Linked DNA regions of Homo sapiens: region 2 is linked to region 1. The links are contacts of gene promoters, found by promoter capture Hi-C in blood cells and fetal thymus (Javierre and others, 2016). All regions are on one chromosome and are shown on one strand. The core of a region is centred on a gene start or on the middle of the fragment in contact, and the rest is flanking DNA. Distances in the headings are between cores, read along the strand shown. Region 1 holds the start of GOLPH3 (golgi phosphoprotein 3). Region 2 overlaps RICTOR (RPTOR independent companion of MTOR complex 2).

The links. Contacts are between HindIII fragments. The CHiCAGO score rates a contact against its expected background, and 5 or more counts as called.
Region 2: a contact is called between a fragment that was not itself captured here and the fragment with the promoter of GOLPH3 in region 1, in 1 of 17 cell types (fetal thymus). The highest score is 7.3, in fetal thymus.

The regions. Positions count from the first base shown.
Region 1 is chr5:32,172,549-32,175,934 of GRCh38, forward strand. GOLPH3 (golgi phosphoprotein 3) reads right to left here and starts at 1,771. Exons shown (of 4, transcript NM_022130.4): 1 at 1,262-1,771. The coding sequence starts at 1,486. RefSeq lists a silencer at 1,055-1,664. The HindIII fragment of the contact is 5,568 bases long and covers 778-3,386 here.
Region 2 is chr5:39,070,367-39,073,715 of GRCh38, forward strand. The region is part of intron 2 of RICTOR (RPTOR independent companion of MTOR complex 2); the gene reads right to left. Among named protein-coding and RNA genes, the nearest start is that of RICTOR, 2.4 kb to the right of the region's middle. RefSeq lists an enhancer at 2,866-3,349 and a silencer at 3,331-3,349. The HindIII fragment of the contact is 1,588 bases long and covers 749-2,336 here.

The DNA of each region.
Region 1 (3,386 bases), core at 521-3,020:
GCTGGGCATGGCGGCGCACGTCTGTAGTCCCGGCTACTCGGGAGGCTGAGGCAGGAAAATCGCTTGAACCCGGGAGGCGGAGTTTGCAGTGAGTGGAGATCGCGCCACTGCACTCCAGCCTGGGCGACAAACTGAGGCTCCGTCTCAAAAACAAAACAAAACAAAAACACAAAATTAGCCGGGCATGGTGGCGCATGCCTGCCTCAGGAGGCTGAGGCAGGAGAATCGCTTGAACCCGGGAGGCGGAGATTTCGGTAAGCCGAGATCGCGGCATTGCACTCCAGCCTGGGCAACAAGAGCGAAACTCCGTCTCCACATAAATAAATAATCATTTTTGTAGGCAAATATAACAAATACAGCAAAACGTCATAGAATCTAGAAAGAGTATATATGCATATGTATCTATCACTTTTTCAACTTTTCTGTGTGTGAAAATTTTGGACACTGAAGTGAAAATAAACGCTTTCAAAGTCAGAATACAAAGAATTATCTATTGCAACTTCAACCCACCTGAAGCTTTGAGGCCTCTGATCAACTCACAAACCTACATTTCAAGCACTCGATGAAAAAGCCCTTTCTTAAGACGGCAAGACTTTGAGATTCATCAACTGATAAAATATAAAAGCGATACTAAAAATAATCTCTCACCTAATGTAAGTTCACCTAGAAAGTCATTTACCAGGAGGTTTCATGAGAAACTTAACTTAACTTTACTCAGTAAAAGAGCTTTTCCCTCTATTACCACTTCGCCTACGTTTTTCGTAATTCCCAACAGTAAGCTTTAACTGAAGAAGAAGAAAAAAAAAACATCCCCAGCAAGCAGATCCGGGCACCCCTCCCAGGTCCTAAAGCCTGCAAAAACCCAAAGAGTTCGTGGCGCTGGTGGCTCCAGCTGTTAGTTTCCCGGGCAGTCTCCGGGTTGGATTTGCACCCTGGGGTCTACACGGGTTAAAAACGCGGAAAAAAGGCGACGAAGAAATACAAACTGCCAGGGTGTCGAAATGAAAGGAGCGACTGTGAAAGGGGTAAGGAAAAATCCAAGCCATCTCTACGGGGAGGATCCAGAAAGCACCAGCCGCGCCAGGGGGTCAACCAACTCCGACACCGCTCGGCGTCAGCTGGGCGCCACCAGGCGCGGACTTCGGAGCGAGGGCAGGTGCGCGGGCCGGAAGCCTCGGGCGCTCACCTGGCACCTACCTGGAGCTCACCTGGCGCCCGGGCCCCGCGCCGCCGCCCCCCGCCCAGCCCGCCGCGCCCGCACCTCGCGGTCCTTGAGGCCCAGCAGGAGCACTTCCTCCATCAGGGTCAGCCGCGTTTCCTTGGAGTCGCCCTTGTCGTCGTCGTCCTGCTCGTCGCGGCGGCTCTGCGCGTCGTCCTCGCTGCTGCCGGCGCCGCCGCCCGCCGCCCGCTCCTTGTCGGCGGCGTTGCGGGAGGCCTCGGTGCGCCGCTGCACCAGGCCGGAGCTGCGCTGGGTCAGCGAGGTCATGGCTCCCGCCGAGGCGCCGAGCCGGGCCGAGAGGGTCGCAGGACCGACCGGGTCGCCCTCCTCCTCCCCGCGCGGCCTCCGATCCGGGTTTCCGTGTTAAATCCGGACGCCGGGGCGACGTCCGTCGGCAGCAGGGCCGGGGGCAGTCATGAGGAAACAGGTCAGGGCGAAGCGGGCTGGCCGGGCGTCGGCGGGGCAGGAGAGGAGCGCCTTCCTGCCTGTGGCCGCAGTCCCCGAAACACCCCGAGCTCCAAGGCGGAGGCGGCGGCGGCGCCTTTCCAATATGGCGGCCCCGGCTGACGTCACCGGAGGATGTGGCAGAGTCGGCGCGGGAGAGCTGGGCCGGGAGGCGCCGGAAGCGGCGGCCGGGGATCCGCTGCCACTGCAGCCTACACCCTTCCCGGCCCTCGGTGCTTGTCTTTTCTTTGGCGTTCCTGCGCCCCCTGACCCGCGGTCCTGCAGTCCTGCTCCCGTGACGTGCCCTCCCTCCTTCCGTTCCCCGTTTCCCCTTCACTACCCAGGGCTGGAGCCTGAACCTGGCGGGGCCCCCCGTGAATGGAAGAGCCTGGGCCACGCGAAGGTGGACCCCACTCAGCCTCCAGCCGTGCCCTCCACGCCCCAGACACCGCCGTCTTCGGAGGCGACTCCGCGGTCGTGTGGACGGGGTCCCATTTGGACTCCGGGGTCTGCAGGATCGGCAGGAAGGACTTTGCTCTCTGCTGCTGGGCGGGGAGGGGTACGCTATCTGCCGGGACTCCCTAACCCTTTAGAAGGAGCAAGTGCGTCCAAATGGTTTGAAAGTGGACCTTTATTGTTTTCCAGGAGTAAGAAGATAGAACAGTTGACCAGTTTTGTTTGTAAAACTTCTTTCCTTGCCTCGGACTTGTGCTATAAAGTGACCAGGGCGTAGTGAGTACAGTTAGTACCGCACACGTTAGCACGCTCGACCTTAACGATCTTTTTATAGAGACAATAAACCTGCAGCGTTTCATGCCACGTCTTTGTACGCATCGGATGTCTCTCCGTGTAGTTACTAGGTGAAATCCTCTTGGCGTGCGCAAATTAGGTTAAAAAAATAGCTGTCAAACCTGAGACAGGAGTTGGAGGAGTAGAGGGTGGCGCTTGTTAAGTGAAACATTTAACCAGGAATGGTATTGTGTGCCATCCTGTATTAAACAATGTATGGACAGAGTGGAACAACAGCAAAGCAAAAAATAAAAATTTTTTAAAAAAAGTGATCATGGGCTGTGGCTAAAGAGTGCTTTAGATGGATTCTTCTCTTCCACAAATCCATTATCCAGAACTGCTGCTGCCTACCATCCCATGCCCTGGAAAGTGACAGTGCTAAATGAAGGGAAGAGAGGGTCCAGGGGGCACACCAAGTAGACCTTCCCTTTTTCCCACCTGTCTTGGTGAAGGTCGATTTCACCTCAACCAATTTCTCCCATTCACACCCTCTTTTTTTTTTTTTTTTTTTTTTTTTTGAGACGGAGTCTTGCTCTGTTGCCCAGGCTGGGGTGCAGTGGCACAATCTCGGCTCACTGCAAGCTCTGCCTCCCGGGTTCACGCCATTCTCCTGCCTCAGCCTCCTGAGTAGCTGGACTACAGGCGCCCGCCACCACGCCTGGCTAATTTTTTGTATTTTTAGTGGAGACGGGGTTTCACCGTGTTAGCCAGGATGGTCTCGATCACCTGACCTCGTGATCCGCCGGCCTTGGCCTCCCAAAGTGCTGGGATTACAGGCGTGAGCCACCGCGCCAGCCCACACCCTCTTTGGACCTTTTTTCTTCATCTTTTCTGATTTTACCAAATGTTGTAGCTTGAAATATTTCTTTGTAAAATAAATGTAATTAATTTATTATGTGAAAAAAGTTAATCAGGAGTAGTGGCCCACATCTGT
Region 2 (3,349 bases), core at 293-2,792, 6.9 Mb after region 1:
GCTGAGGCAGGAGAATGGCGTGAACCCGGGAAGCGGAGCTTGCAGTGAGCCGAGATTGCGCCACTGCAGTCCGCAGTCCGGCCTGGGCGACAGAGCGAGACTCCGTCTCAAATAAAAAAAAAAAAAGTTAGAGTTCAAATCTACATCATTTTGGAACCTTTCTGCTTTTCTAGGTATTAGACAGCAACCAAGAGAGTCAGTTTTTTAGTTCTTAGTGGAAACGTAAAGGAGTTAATCAAAAATTATAAAATTCAACTATACTTTTAAATAAATTATATTCTAATAATTATATTTGAACTAGTGTGTCCATATTCTGGGAATTCACTTTGAACACAATAATTAAAGTATACCAGGAGGGGTTTACCCAGGAAGAACACTGTATCTTTTCAAGTGATTCAGTACCAGTAAAGAGATGCACTACTGGACTGATAAGACAGTCTATCCTTGCAGTACAAATGGCGAGAGGAAGCATTTGGGCTTCAAAATACATTTTGGCATGCATTACAGACAGTATTTAATAATATCATTAGCAAATATTGGGGACTTTCACAAATTAAGTAGTTGTCTGAACAAAACTCAGAGCAACCATTACCAATACGCTGACTGTAAAGTCTACTATAATGAAGTTCCTAAACTAGATAAAAATTAATCCATCAACAATTTTTAACTGAGGCACTCTATGTATGAACCACAGCACTAACACAAGTACCAAAACCAACGAAACTTAGAATTCTTCTGAGCCTCAAGAAGCTTGCAAGGCTAGCCAAGTCATTATTAAATAGTATGAAATGTCCTGGTGTCAGAGACAAAAATTCTAAGGTTCTATGAAATACAGTATCACATTTTATCCTAAGTGAATATAACATACTGCACTTCGCTTAGACTTAATTTATTGGTAATGTCACAGATTGCTTTACAATTGTTATATTCAAGAACTCTAACTCAGATAGACTATACCCAATTAGTATAACAGTATGTTTCAAAAAAAAAAGAAGCTCGAATACCATAATTCCTTATTAACAAGTTTATAATATTCAAAACAACCGTTTAAAGTATTTTTAATGTGAGTTTTAAAACTGTGATTTCACAATGTAGGAAGGCAACTAATGTTAAATATCACTTACAAAGTATCCGGTCTTATGCCAAGTACTTTAATTAAGAACTAGCTCATTTACTTTTCACATTCTTAACCCTTTGAAGTTATCTCTTATTTTAGAAATGAAGAAATCAGGGGTAAAGCAAGGTCAAATAACTTGCCCCAAATCACCCAACTATTAAATCTCACAGCTGAGGTTACAATCCAGAATGATTTGACTTTATAGTCAACTCTCTTTTCACTACACATTGATGGATCCTTTAGGGATTACAATGACCATGTCCTCTATTTTATAATGAGCTTTATTAGGTAACTACACAATGAATCTCTCAAAGATTAAATTTAAAAAATAAGAATAAAAGCAAACACTGCCTTGGCATTAAACAAAAAAATTTTTGGTTGCCCAAACTTTATCTTTTTACATACTGTAATCTAATCCACAAACAGCTGCCCTTCAGCTGCAACCCAAACTGCCTCACAGTTCTCAAATTATTACTAAACTTTAATTCCTCATGAATTTTCTTCAAGCCTTCTTTGAACAATGAAATGTCTGTCACAACAGCAACTTTTTAAAACAATAGTATCACTATAAAATGACTGATTCAGATTAATTCCAAACTTCCTTATGATTTAGAAATACAGATCTCAAACAATCCCTCACTCTTTATTTTTGCAATCAGTTTTAAATGGCTGTGTATACTTTATTCCAAACTGAAGTACATTTTGTCAGGGCAAGCCGAAAACAGCATTTTCTGCACTATCTATATTAACCTGGAAATACCTATGGACATAGGTGCTTACTAAATTCTCAGTTAATATGGCATTTTAAATAGTAAACAGTTACCTGTGTGCCTCAGTAAAACTGGAGTAAGCCAAAATTATCAAATCAGATGTGTACCTAAGCTCTTCCACAACTCAACATTTTTGACACCAAGCAGAGAAACCACTATATATAGGAGCTCGACGAACTCAATTTAAAATACAACTATATATTTCCAGCACCACATCTGAGCAGGTTTTTAATGCACAAGTTAAACTCAAGTTTATTAAGGGCTCCCTTCACCTTCATCTAAAACACATATGCCTGTATATAAATTAAATCACTCACTAATTACATCTTTTACAGACCTGAAATTGTAGAAGTTATCCTTGTTAGGAAGTTTTCTAGTGAATCTATTTTATATAGATTTTTCACATGTGTGTTATAGTCAAGTTTCCAAACAGTTGCACAGAAGTCAAAAGCTTTACATCTTTCTATACTAATTCTCAAAACCGATCTGCTGAAAAAAATGGTGGAAATTAGTGCATTGATAATCTAATTAGTAGCCATTTTCAGGATTTAAGCTCTACTATATTGTATTATATTTTAGAAACTGTCTTGTAAAAGGACCTAGTTCACCCAAAACTAAGTCCCTGAACTTTCAGAATAAAATATTAAGTTATAAAAATGTACTCTTGTAGCTAAGTGAAAGCTGACCATTCAGTTTATAAAACAGTAATCTTACATCGTGATAAGCAAAATAAAACAAATTAGAAAATGCACTATGCTTTCACTCTAGCCGTTGTCAACAAGGAGCCCAGCTTTAACAAATTACTGTAGATAACAGTCATTACGTCAGGTACGACATAGGGTAAAAAACTGATCTCATACAGAATGTCTACAACAAGTTTTTTTGTTTACTTCCTAAGGTGTTTTATAGACCTCAGAAACTGATTCTGTACAGCTGAACCGGGTTACACTCCAAGCTACAGCCCGTGTGAAATATGACTTCGTCGGAATCAGTAGGCTCAATCCTGTTTACCGTGGAAGAGAAAAGAATCTTGTACGTAACTACTAAATCTTCAACGAGATAATGTCGAATAAACTCTAGTACTGTAAGTGATAGAGGAAACACTGGCTAGTAACGGGATTAGGTCATTAAAAATATCACCCGAGTTTCCCCAGTTCGGAAGGTGTAAACAAACCCATCTCCACTGCAGAAGGTAAACAATGAACCTGCAGCAGGGTGAGGGGGCGGTCTTTAGCCAACTACAGTCCCAGCGGCCCGGGAAAGGGAAGCAGAAGGGAAACAGCATAAACCAGACATTTAGCAGTAATGACCAGTTCTAGGTTTCACTACCAAGTTATCAATGCTGCGGGTCCCCACAGGACGGTGGGCAAAGGGGAAAGCAGTCACGCAGTCGGCAAGCACCGAGCAGGTCCGGCTTCTGCTCCGGGGACGGGGAGGGCAGGATGTGGTCGCTCTTCCCTCA